Regions from separate parts of the Homo sapiens genome. Here region 2 is linked to region 1. Evidence: promoter capture Hi-C in 16 types of primary human blood cells and fetal thymus (Javierre and others, 2016). All regions are on one chromosome and are shown on one strand. The core of a region is centred on a gene start or on the middle of the fragment in contact, and the rest is flanking DNA. Distances in the headings are between cores, read along the strand shown.

Region 1 (6,368 bases), core at 811-3,310:
AATCCCAGCACTTTGGGAACCCGAGGCGAGCGGACCACCTGAGGTCAGGAGTTCGAGAGCAGCCTGGCCAACATGGTGAAACCTCGTCTCTACTAAAAATAGAAAAATTATCCGAGTGTGGTGGTGCGTGCCTGTAATCCCAGCTACTTGGGAGGCTGAGGCAGGAGAATCACTTGTACCTGGGAGGCGGAGTTGCAGTGAGCCGAAATCGCGCCACTGCGCTCCAGCCTGTGGGCCAGAGCGAGACTCCGCCTCAGAATAATAATAATGATAATAATAATAACGCCACCAACAATACTAAGAGCTAACATTTACTGAGTGCTTACTATGCACCAGATATTGTTCTAAGTATACATTTATTATCTCATTTAACCATCCATAATACTGTGGTATAGACACTTTTATATCCATTTTATAAATAAGTAAACTGAGTTATGGAGAGATTAAACGACTTGCCAGTAAGATTCAAAGCCTGTGTACAAGCTCACGCTTGATTCTGGAGCCAGTGTTCTTAACACAGTATCTTGAGAATGTTAAACTAAAAAGTTTTTAATTTACAGTATTCTTTCCACAATTAAAAAAGAAATTATGAGTAATTATTTTTAGTTCTTTCTTCTCTTCAGGCATTTCCCATGGTTCTTTTCAAGACATAATACATATCATTTAGTGTTGTAGATCTGAAAAAACAAAAGTAGCGTGAAGATCAAAAATTTTCTAAAGAGACGGAGTCTCGCTACGTTCCCTAGGCTGGAACACCCAGGCTTCTCCAGCCTCACACCTCTGAGTAGCTGGAACCACCCTGTCCGCTAAGGTCAATGTTTAATCGTATCTTTGTAGGTCTACTGACCAGTTAAAAAGAGGTGCTGTATACATTGGTTGTTGTCTTGTCAGAGTTTGATGCTTCTATATAGACCATTGTTTTTACATGCTAATACAATTGAAAGCCACTACAGATATTTATATTTACAACCCAAAGCTAGGTTTTAACAAGAAACTCATAAGGCAAAGGTGAGAAGTAAAATAATTTAGCGCCAAGTGGAGATATATGTGCAATGCTACTTTGTTGGGCTCAAAACATATTTTTCTTTTAGAAGACTGACAGGCTTGAAGTTTATGCCTCCAAAGACAAAAGTGATTATGTTTTGTTTAGTAGCTTGCAAAGTTGCCAAAGGCCATTTTTTCTACTCTTTCCCTGAAATTGGTTTATATGCTTATTAAAGTCATTTATACCTATTTGCAAATGCTTAACATAGTTTCAGATTTTAAGATTTCCCTGCAACTTTATTTCCCTTGAAGTTTACAGCAACAGGAGTTCATTTTTATTTTTAATTGCATTTATTCAGTAAGTAAACTCCGCCACAGAAAAACTTAGTAGACAAGGTGAGTTCCCCTGTGCTCCGTGGCAAAGAGTGCGGTGGGTGACATTGACCCATGGTTAGGTAATCTGGTAAGGAAAGACCCCGTTGTAACACATCTGAGCAACGAGACCAAAGGAAGGGCTTGCTGCCACGAGGCGAAGTCTGCTTTTTTGAACAGAGAGCCCAGCAGAGTTGGGCGGCAATCGTGCCCAGCACTGAGGCCGAGGAGAAAGAGAGCAGGAGCATTACATTACTGCACCAAGAGTAGGAAAATATGATGCATGTTTGGGACCAGGCAACCGAAATCCCTTCTCAGCAGCGCCTCCCAAAGCCGGGCACCGCCTTCCTTCGGAGAAGGCGCAGAGTCCCCAGACTCGGGCTGAGCCGCACCCCCATCTCCTTTCTCTTTCCTCCGCCGCTAAACACAGACGAGCACGTGAGCGTCGCAGCCCGTCCCAGCTGTGCCTCAGCTGACCGCCTCCTGATTGGCTGAGAGCGGCGTGGGCTGGGGTGGGGACTTGCCGCCTGCGTCGCTCGCCATTGGATCTCGAGGAACCCGCCTCCACCTCAGGTGAGGCGGGCTTGCGGGAGCGCGCGCCGGCCTGGGCAGGCGAGCGGGCGCGCTCCCGCCCCCTCTCCCCTCCCCGCGCGCCCGAGCGCGCCTCCGCCCTTGCCCGCCCCCTGACGCTGCCTCAGCTCCTCAGTGCACAGTGCTGCCTCGTCTGAGGGGACAGGAGGATCACCCTCTTCGTCGCTTCGGCCAGTGTGTCGGGCTGGGCCCTGACAAGCCACCTGAGGAGAGGCTCGGAGCCGGGCCCGGACCCCGGCGATTGCCGCCCGCTTCTCTCTAGTCTCACGAGGGGTTTCCCGCCTCGCACCCCCACCTCTGGACTTGCCTTTCCTTCTCTTCTCCGCGTGTGGAGGGAGCCAGCGCTTAGGCCGGAGCGAGCCTGGGGGCCGCCCGCCGTGAAGACATCGCGGGGACCGATTCACCATGGAGGGCGCCGGCGGCGCGAACGACAAGAAAAAGTAAGCCCATTCCCTCGGCCCGCCGCCTTCTCCCCCGGCGACCCCGCCCGCCTGCCCGCCCTGGGCTCCTGGGCCGGCCTCGGCGTTAATGGGATTGGGGGGGGCAGCCTTTTTGTTTCTGCTGCTGCTCCCCTCCCCTCTCTTCCCCCAACCTCGCCGGCCGGGCTCCCCCGCTGTCCACGTCGCCATCTTGTCGTGGGGGGTGGGAGACGCCTCGAAAGTGCTTTCAGGGGCCGGGGTCTGAGCCCTGCTTGCCCTCCCCGCCGGCCGTGGGGGCCTCGCGCCGCCCACCTACCCGCCTCAAAAACCCAGCCTGCTCTGTGGCCCCATCCGGAGGGGACTTTACCCAGCCTGAAAACCCCGGGAAGAGAAATGAGCTGCAGCTCGGTAGCCGCGGTTTGCACCCGGAGCTTCCGCTCCTTCCCGCCCCCATCCTCTCCAGTTCCATTGAAAACTCGGCCCTGGGGCGGACCCTGCACGCTGGTCCTGGCTTTCCAGTGGACTTGGGGCCTTGAGTTCCCGACTGAGGGACTCGCGTGGTCGGATGCGATCTTGTCCTGTAGTTGTCCAGCCGTCGCGGGTGTCTTTGCCTTTGTGCATTAGGGATTTGCCGCGATGGCCTTAAGATGCGAACTTTTTAGTTTGCACGTGCAGGTTTTGTTTCGTTTTAATCGCCTTGAAAAACTTGCCTAGACTGAGAGTCAGAGTAATGGGAATTTAGGGAAATGGCAACATTTTAAAGAGAACTTCAGAATTGGATACTTGAGTTCATATCACCTGTCACGAGAACGCAGATATTATAAATGAATATATGCCTCATTCATTCTTCAAATAATGAAAATGTAGGGGCTGGTTAAATTTAGGCAGTTTTAATGATACTGAAAAAAGTATATGATGAGTGAATGAAATGCGGCACTAAAATGTTGCAAAAATTTTCGAACTCTGTCTCATTTTCCTGAAATTGAAGTATATTAAAGGAAAACCGTCAACATATATCTAAAGTAAGTAATCACTCGGTTAGAACTTAATGCAAGTTTTATAAATCACCTTGAAGTTTGAGTCTAAGGGGTACATTAGAGATTAAGAATTGTGAGTTGGACCAGTGGTGTTAAGAGCGGACTCCCCCATCCCCCAACACACACACAATTTTGCCCACTTTGGCATTTTAACTTTTAAGGAAATCACTTAAGGAATTGAAGATTTAGAGTAAGAGTTTTGGTTAGTAGACTGGCTTTGCTGTTAAATCCTTCCACTCTTCTGGCAGAGAGATTAATTTCCCTAATCAGTATCAGCAGAAGATAAACTTGTTTATATTCCTGCTGTTTTGTAGATCCCTTCTCCTGGTCCTTCTTCAATAGAATATTAAATTCTTAGTTTGTATACAGCAGAGAAGGTCACTTATAAAATTCAAAAAGTGAGCAAACAGGTCTAGATTAATTCCAAGAGTTACCAGGAATTAATTGCAGTTTATTTTGCGGAGGTGATTACAGTGCTTTTGATGAAATGATAAAGCTGCTATATTGTAAACCTAAGGCAGATTACCTCTGTGTAGTGCCAGTTTTCTATCCTTATTATATATTGAATCATACTTAATACAATGCATTAAATTATGTACCACTTTTTTTATATACAGTATCGAACTCATTGTTTTGCCATTCATCCGTTCAGAATATCAGAAGCAGTTTTGAAACGAATTAATAAATTAGCTACTGTTCATCAGCCCCAATTCTAAATAAGCTCTTAGATTTTCCTCAGCCCATCTGTTACTTTCAAAATTTTCTCATTTGAAAACTTGGCAACCTTGGATTGGATGGATTCATATTTCTTAGTATAGAAGTTCTTGATATAACTGAAAAATTAAGTTAAACACTTAATAAGTGGTGGTTACTCAGCACTTTTAGATGCTGTTTATAATAGATGACCTTTTCTAACTAATTTACAGTTTTTTGAAAGATAACTGAGAGGTTGAGGGACGGAGATTTTCTTCAAGCAATTTTTTTTTTCATTTTAAATGAGCTCCCAATGTCGGAGTTTGGAAAACAAATTTGTCTTTTTAAAAGAAGGTCTAGGAAACTCAAAACCTGAAGAATTGGAAGAAATCAGAATAGAAAATGGGTATGGTTATGATACTGTAGATTTAACGCAGGACATTTCATGTTGTTCCTAGTTATAGGGGCTGAACTTATTTAATAGCACGTGCATTTTGATTTTTAGATTTTTAAGGGAATGTCAAGAGAGTAATGATTCTGTTTCAGGCTTCAGGCCAGACTCCTTCAGAGTTTTCCAAAACAAATAATTACTGAATCATTAAAGTAAAATTTCTGAGAATAGATATTCCTTAATTTCCTTCATTAACTTTGGCCATTAAAAGTCAAGAAGCTCTCTCATTTATTAGCAAACTTTTCTCCTTATGATTCTATTTTGATTGTCCTTTTGTTTGAGGAAGCAGCATATGGTGGTTAAGAGCATAGGATCTAGAGGCAGATACCTCTGAGTTAAGGGTCCCAGCCCTTCACTTGTGAGCTTGAGCAAGTTACTGAATGCCTCTGAGCCTCTTTCCTCCTTTTGAAATGATGATAAGAATAGCAGCCATCTGAGCAGTTATTGTAAAGGTTAAATGAGATAATGCTTGTGAAGCACTTAGCCCATTGCAGGAGTCTTGATGACACTGTGTACTTGAAAATAGATGTTACCTGTTAAAATTCTTGTTTAAACTTCCACAACTCTTAAAACTCTTTTTTGCTAGTCCTTCCAGCTGTTTCCTTTAGTTTCTTTTCTGTGTCTTCATGCATCTTTTCTATCTCCTGAAAGTGAAAAGACTAACATTGGATCCAGAGCTTGAAAAGCGTTTTTTTCCTGTTACAATGGGCAAAAGAGTACATCCTTGGGTTATATTGGCACCTAGTATCAGTTATTTTTCTTGAGCATCTGATCTGCTCTCTACTCTAGTGGAGGCCTCCTGCTTCACAATTGCTCACCCCTGTGTTTTCTCCCCAAATAGAATACTGAGTTTACTCTGGACTCTAGAGTCAAACATACACAGTATTCTAGTCTTACTGTTCATTTAAGCAAGATATGTGCAAGACACTGCATTCTTAGTACTGGCAGTAAGTTAAAACATTTTTCGTCTTGATGCCAAAGTTTAGACAATTTTATAAAAATTAACCTTTGTAAAAGATAATGAGTTGATAAAATATTCTCAGTAAAGCAGCTACGTGGTAGAAAAACTGTCCTTTGCTTATGAGTTTCTCCAGAGTTAAGACCATTGGGTTCCATCTGAAGGCAAGACTTCAAGCTTGTCTTACTGGTCTGTTTTGTGGCTCAATTTGTATGAAGTCTATGCACTCTTCCACACGTGTGTATTTACTGAACTATCGAGTTATTTTAGACTGAGAAAGTATTGGAGTTCATTCCTACGGTCCACTGCAGAGCACCTTGTGCAGTTTGGAGAATGTCAACTTTTCTACCTGTTAACTTCCATTGTCTTTACTTTTAACGCCATTGTCTGTGACTCTAATGGTGTCACGGCTCAGGGTTTAGATTTTGTGGTTACATTCTATTCTTGTATGTCAAGAGTGGTGTATAGAAAGCTGAGGGGGATTATTTAGTCTCTTGACTGATTTTTTTTTTTTTTCTGAAGAACTCAGTTTATTATGTTTGGTGGTGAAATAAAAATTGATGTGCATGGATGTTAAAGATTTGGGTTAAATTGTGTGTTCATAGATGCCTTCTCTTAGTATATAATTTTTTAAATTTAGATACTTAAAATACTGTATCCCTTTATCTAAGATTAACATAAGTCTGTTTCTTAACCAGGATAAAAAAATCTAAATTTAAATGTGATGTTGGATGAGTTTCCAATCAAGAAATTGATTTTTTAAACTTTGTGACTAGTTATCCAGTGGGTGGATTTTACCCAGTGTGTGTATGTGTTTTCTGCTTAACTCTGGAAGGTTAGAAAGAGAATTTGAAACTAAGACA
Region 2 (6,568 bases), core at 3,520-6,019, 1.4 Mb before region 1:
TAAGGAGAGGGACCATCATGGGTCAGTTTTTAAAATGGGAGAAAAGTGTCCCCTGTAAAAAAGTACTACTTGTCCACTTTAGAGGAGAGAATACTAAATATGAAGTGGGAGGGGCTAAAATAAAATTACACCCACTTCCTCTGTACGACTTTCTTGGTTACAAGTGATAGAAATTTAATTCAAACTAGGTTAGGTAAAGGGGGAATTTATTAGTTTGGAGTATCTAAGGCTGAACAACTAAATTGTGGCTGGTCAGGAATGTGGCTGGGCCTCAGAAACAACTGGAGCCGGGCATCTGAATGCTCTCCCTACTCTCCCTGTCCTTCCTTTCTGCAGCACTGTCCAGATCAGCTTCTTCCACATGGGAGGGAAAATGGCTGCTGACGGCTCCCAAGCCTCAATCCCTTCACCCTTGCCACTGGTAAGACAGATTCCTTTTTTCACTTCCAGTTTTTAAAATTCCAGGGAAGGGCTCTGACTGGCTCTGCTGTAGTCATGTGTATACCCAGCCAATGGGAGCCAGGCTGAGGGGTGGGGTCATGGCTGTTACTGCCGTAGCCCCTTGGACAGGAGGCGGCAGGCACAGACATCAATCACTGAGTGTCCTTCGCCTCAGCATTTCCCCTGAGGTTGGTTCTGCACACCTTCATCTTTGTCTCAGCACAGGCCCTGGGCGGCAATGCCTTTTTGTGTTTTTTATGTATAAAGCTATTTGTTACAGTGTTGACTCAAAGCTGATACATTTCTGTTCTCAGGCAAACTGCGGTTTAGGTTGCTGCCTTGGCAGTCCTGGCTGTCCTCACGGAAGAGCATGTGAACCACGGACCTGGCTGTCTTTTTCATTGGGTTGGCTCTGCGGTGCAGGCTGGCAGATGAGCATGTGATGAGCCCGCCCTTGCTGGCCGTGCAATTCGGCTCCTGTCATGCTCTTGGCCATTGAATCGGCCTAATGCAGCCCCTCAGCAGCCAGCCTGGTGTTCCCTGGGGCTGAGGATCTAATGTCAGCAGGGCATGATTCGATTCACATTAAAGATGGATATTAAGTCTTTTTACTCGGGGTCTTGTCAAGAAAAACAAATCTGCCTGCTATCAAAGGCATAGAAAATGCCCCTTACCATGACAGCAGTTAACTATGTTCACTGATATCAAAGAGACTGTCTGTCCCCAAGCCTTGGAGGCAGTTTTGTCAAGGTCAATTCGGCTGATCTTTTTCAACGATAACCCAAAGAGGATTAAGTTAACATCTGACCTTTAAAGAGCTTTATTGTTGGGGAACCAAGCTAATTAAAAAATTAAAAGACTGCTTTTGAAAAATATTTAGACCAAACACTAAGGAAAACATGAACACACTGCTTATAGCAGCAGGAATATTGACAGAAAATCCCCAATGGCAAACTAGCTTTGTTATCACACTGTTGAGCTTAATGTGGGGACTCTGGAATCAAACGAATGGGTTCCAATCCTGGCTCTGCCACTTTCTAGTTTCTAGAAAGTGTTTCTAGAAACACTAGTTTCTAGTTTAGTTTCAAAGTAGGGCAAGTGTCTTGCCTTCTCTGAGCTCTGTTGTCTTATTTGTAAAATCGGGATAATAATAGTAATTATCTATAAGATTATTGCAAGGATTAAATGAGATAGTACATGTAAAGCCTTTTCATTTAGGCTAACTATAAATATTACTGTGGACATTTTCAAGTTTAAACATTTTTAAATTTTGCTTTACCGACTTGTGCCATCATGTTGACAGCTGAATGGAATCTCTTGACAAAGTGGCTGGTTCTCACTATCTCCAGAATTCAGAGAAACATCTAGGTTCTGAGCTGGCTCAGCTTTGGACCAAATGTTACTAGCATAGATATAGCAGCTCTTACACCCCAGCTGCCACTGCACTTGATCATCTGCCCCATTACACATATGACAACTCTGTTTACTACTAAAGCTATCTTGAAGAAATGGAATTGTGAGAATAGGGATGGTAATGTTGTCCAGAAAAAGTTCTCTCTTTTAAGTTCTCCTATAAATACTTTCCAATTCAAGGAGATACTGTTCATTGTTAAATGTTTTCATCCAAAGCAGTGTTCCTCACCCTGGCTTCCGGTTTGCTTTTTCTTTTTCTTTTCTTTTCTCTCTTTTCTTTTCTTCTGTCTCTTTTCTTTTCTGTCCTTTCTTTCTTTTTTCTTTTCTTTTCCTTTCTTTCTTTCTTTTATTCTTTCTTTCCTTCTTTCTTTCTTTTTTCTTTCTTCCTGCCTTCCTGCCTGCCTTCTTTCCTTCCTTCCTTTCCTTCTTTTCTTTTCTTTTTTGACAGCATCTAACTCTGTTACCCAGGCTGGAGCGCAGTGGTGCATAGCTCACTGCAGCTGCAGTCTCAAACTGCTGGGCTCAAGTGATCCTCCTGGCTCAGCCTCCCAAGTAGCTGGGACTACAGGTGCACACCACCACACCTGGCTAATTTAAACTTTTTTTTTTTTTTTTTTTTAAAGACATGAGGTCTTGCTATGATTCCCAGGCTGGTCTCAAATGCCTGTCCTCAAGAATCCTCCCACTTTGGCCTCCCAAAGTGCTGAGATTATAAGCATGAGCCACTGCACCCGCACTTGGCTTGGTTTTCTTTTCATTGGCTTATGTGGTGGTTGGAGTTATCTCTTTTGCATGTTGACAGGTGTCATAAAGCCATAGGAGACTTTGAGATGGCCTGAAAATAAGATCATGGATTTTTCCTGGCAGAGAGTTTAGTTTACTTTCAAACCCCGCTAGCCTTTGCTACTCAAAGCCTGGTTCATAAAACCAGGGCTTTGACTTCACTTAGATGCTTCTTAGAATTGCAGAATCTCTTGCCCCACAGTCTTGCTCTCTCAGGCTGGAGTACAGTAGCACAATCTCAGCTCACTGCAACTTCCACCTCCTGAATTCAGGTGATTCTGGTGTCTCAGCCTCCCAAGTAGCTGGGATTATAGGCATGCACCATCATACCCAGCTACTTTTTGTATTTTTAGTAGAGACAGGTTTTTGCCATGTTGTCCAGGCTGATCTCAGACTCCTGGCCTCAAGTGATCTGCCCATCTTGGCCTCCCAGAATGCTTGGATTACAGGTGTGAGCCACTGCACCGGCCACAATCTGCATTTTAACAAACTTCCCAGGTGGTGCCAATGACATTAAAGTTGCAGCAGCACTGCTCAGGAGCTGTGCATTGGAATCACCTGGAGTACTTGAAAAACTATTGATGCTCAGGTCCCAACCACAAAGACTCCCCCAACTTAACTGGCATTGGGGTTTTAAAAAATTTCTCCAGGTCATTGTAACTAATGCACAAGGTGAGAACTTGTGCTCAAGAGACATTCTTTCTTCTTCCTCCACTTATTTCTACAATTGCTTTTCTCTTAAAGTAAAAATCTCAAGCTACAGTCAAAGTTCATTTCATGTCCATTTTATAGATAATGCCACACAATGTGAAGATTCATTCTGAATTTAAAAAATAACCTTTACAAATATCTTCTGAACCTTTGCCAAGGTCCCCACATCCCTCTTTTATTGTGAGGTCCAGAACTAGACACAGTCCTCCAGTACAGCCCTCAACATCACTGAACAGCAGCACAAGGGATGTTTGTATTCTTCTGAATGAAAGGTACTGTTATAAAGAAAGTCAGAACATTCGAAGGGGGTGGGGGCGGCTTTGATGGCCAAGCAAAAGATTTCCTCATGCCTACACTCAGTCTGGGAGTGAATGAGCCAGTTACATAAGGAGAAAATCCTCCTTCCTAGTGTTGAGCTTTCCTAATTGGAGGACTAAATGTGTCATTATTTAACTAAATAATTAATAAGCTTTCTTGTAATTCATGGATGACTAAACAGATAAACTCACCTGTACCAAACTTTCAGAGAGAGTTCCACTGATTTAATAAATTTGGTTCATGTCATCAGCATAAAAGTCATCTGAACCTTGAGCCTCAAAGACCAGTGACCTCCAAACTTGACAACTCAACTTATAAGAATCAACTCGGCTGCTTACTAAACATATATAGATGTCTGAGCAAAGGTATTTGTGGTTTTTAAAAAACTACATCAATTCTTCTCAAACTTTAATGGGGGTGGTGATGTGGTGAGGGCAGGTCTTGTAAAAAATTTAGACTCCCATCAACAGGTCTGAGTAGGGCCTGAGATTCTGCATTCCTAACGATCTCAAAAGTGATACCGTGCCGCTACTTCATGGACCACACTTTTAGTGGCAAGGCCCTAGACAATTTTGATAATCAGCCAGTTTGGGAACCAGAACTTGAGGCATCATAAATGTTACCTGAAATATGAAAAAGCTAATCTCCGCCTCAATGTTTATCAGCAGCTCAGGGTGCATCAGTGAGTGTTACACAGACGGATACAAAATGTGGGTGGGCAAATTTAATTTCAAACGGTGGAAGAAACCTTATTGAGAATGTTTAATTATGTTCATGCTCCGCTAATACGAGAATAGAGTGGACTCTTAAGTTCCTTTATTTCTCTAGTGATCTATTCTTTAGAGTTCACCAGCAAACACAAAGGCGGGAGGAACCGTTACTTTAAATTCATATTATTTTAGCTGATGTATCTGGAGCACAGTGATAAATTAATCATGACGTCTGGTCTGATTCACAATCATGTTCTAGCCTAATTTACACTTTGCATTTGCAGAACTGAAATGCGATGCATTAAAATGGTCACACACCACGGATTTTTCTCCTCGCTGCACCCATGGAGGGAGGCGCTGTCTCCGCCTTTTCCTGTAAGCACCTGCCCGGGGCCCAAGCCCACAGTGGATGGCTCGTCCAGCTCAGAGAGCGCCCAGGACGCAGTGAGGAAGCAGAATTGGGCGCTCAAGACTCAGACCCGGACTGATGAGCTAAGACTGCTTGCAAGAGGGAGTGGGAGTCGTTAAAAAAATATCCTCGTGGCTTAATGACCAAGGCGGGTTTATTCTCAAGGAAGGGGGAGCGGCGTGGTGGTGTTACTAAACATAACAGATGGCAGCTGTCTGCGGCTATATAGGGCGCGCTGACAAATCCCTCTGGATGGCCACGCGGCGCTGGGCTGCGGGGCCTGGGTGCACTTCGCGCCTGGCTCGGAGGGCGCCGCCTGCGGGAGGACCTCCGGGAGCCGAGCTGCCTCCCCGCAAACCCGGCCCGGGCCCACGCGGGCTCAGGGCGCCAGGCGGGGTGCGCCGAGGTGCAGCTCCCCGGCCCTAGGCTTCGCTGGGGTGGGGGTCGAGGCCTCTCCGCGGGTGGCTCCCTCCACCCTGCCGCCCCGCCTCGCGGCTGGGAGTTGCCCGGGAGCTGTGAATTCACTAGACCAGCATTCACCCAGGGCCTGCGGGGGCTGTGAAAGGATGGGAGGACTCGGCTCCCCAACCCACCTTTACAAAGCCGAAGTGTGGCTGGTGAGGTACCCGACACGCACACACTGCACCGTGATACTGAACCATGCCTGAGTGTGCATTTTGTGCGAAATGGGTCTTAGCCATGATTTCCATGTGGTGAACATCTTTTCCAAACCCCGGATTGAAACACGATTATCAGGTCAATAACATTTTTTCTATGATTTGGAGATTGATTCAGATGGGCAAAATCTTACAAAGTTAATAATCTTATAAAAATCTTACATAATAATCTTAAGTCGCTTTTAGAGAGACATTTAAAAAATATGTCTATTGAAAATAATAAAATTCAGTGAAATTGGACAGGACTGTGGCAGTTGGGGAAGCTTCCTGGAAGATCGGGCAGAAAGAGAGCTTGCCAGTTTGGGCTTGGGATGGGCAAAAACAGAGGGGATTGAGAGTTCTGGGGACTCAATAACGTACATCACTGTGATTTTCAAGCGGCAAATTTCTTTAGAAAGGTAAGGCCAGACAGACTAATGGGAACTGTCCAAGGAGAGGGAACAGAGGAACCCTCTGCACTTTTGGGGCTATGGTCTCTGAAATCGGCTGCAAGGACCACCACCTAGGGGTCGTGTGGTGCATGTCATGTGCTTGGCTTTCTGCAGCAGTGTTGGAGAGTTCCATGGGAAAAGCCTCCTCTCCCCACCCCTCATCATCTCCTCGACCCCTTTCTCAACAAATGTCAGGGACTAAGGCTTCCTTATTTTCTCCTCAATCACCTTGCAGTGCTTTTCACTGAAGGTGAGAAAGGTTGAGGTTCATTCATTCATTTAACAAATGTTTAAGAGCCTTCTATGTGCTAAGCCCAGGTGCTTGGAACCTGAACAAAACAGGTAAGAATCCCTGCCTGCGTGGAGTTTGCAAGAAGCAAGCTACATGGATAAAATCTGTGGACAGTGTCAGCCTGACAATGGGCTGCCTTTGTTTCCTGTAAATAGAATTATTCCTTTTGACTTAACAAGAATTCTGACACACTGAGGGTCCTCCATACATGTGAAGCTATCATTGTGATTATTCAGTAATTGCCAAGAAAAAGGCATACCTGATGGAGGAACCCTTATGTTTGAAAGAATAGAATAAAGTTTTAATTCCTTTTTTATGCATTTATCTGGTGGAGGGTGCTTTGGCCACATGCGAACCTTTCCCCAGTAACGTGGGTTTGTGTA

The links. The method cuts DNA at HindIII sites, captures the fragments that hold promoters and counts their contacts. A CHiCAGO score of 5 or more calls a contact.
Region 2: a fragment that was not itself captured here is called in contact with the fragment with the promoter of HIF1A in region 1 in 1 of 17 cell types (M2 macrophages); the score reaches 5.7 in M2 macrophages.

What each region holds. Positions count from the first base shown.
Region 1 is chr14:61,693,453-61,699,820 of GRCh38, forward strand. It overlaps HIF1A (hypoxia inducible factor 1 subunit alpha), which reads left to right and starts at 2,061. Exons shown (of 15, transcript NM_001530.4): 1 at 2,061-2,387. The coding sequence starts at 2,353. It overlaps HIF1A-AS1 (HIF1A antisense RNA 1), which reads right to left and starts at 2,371. Exons shown (of 2, transcript NR_047116.1): 1 at 2,255-2,371. RefSeq lists an enhancer at 1,380-1,749 and silencers at 1,820-2,119, 2,420-2,519. The HindIII fragment of the contact is 8,611 bases long and covers 1-5,680 here.
Region 2 is chr14:60,322,856-60,329,423 of GRCh38, forward strand. It overlaps LINC02322 (long intergenic non-protein coding RNA 2322), which reads left to right and starts at 341. Exons shown (of 2, transcript NR_146481.1): 1 at 341-421; 2 at 756-1,052. RefSeq lists an enhancer at 4,894-4,953 and a silencer at 5,064-5,373. The HindIII fragment of the contact is 1,908 bases long and covers 3,816-5,723 here.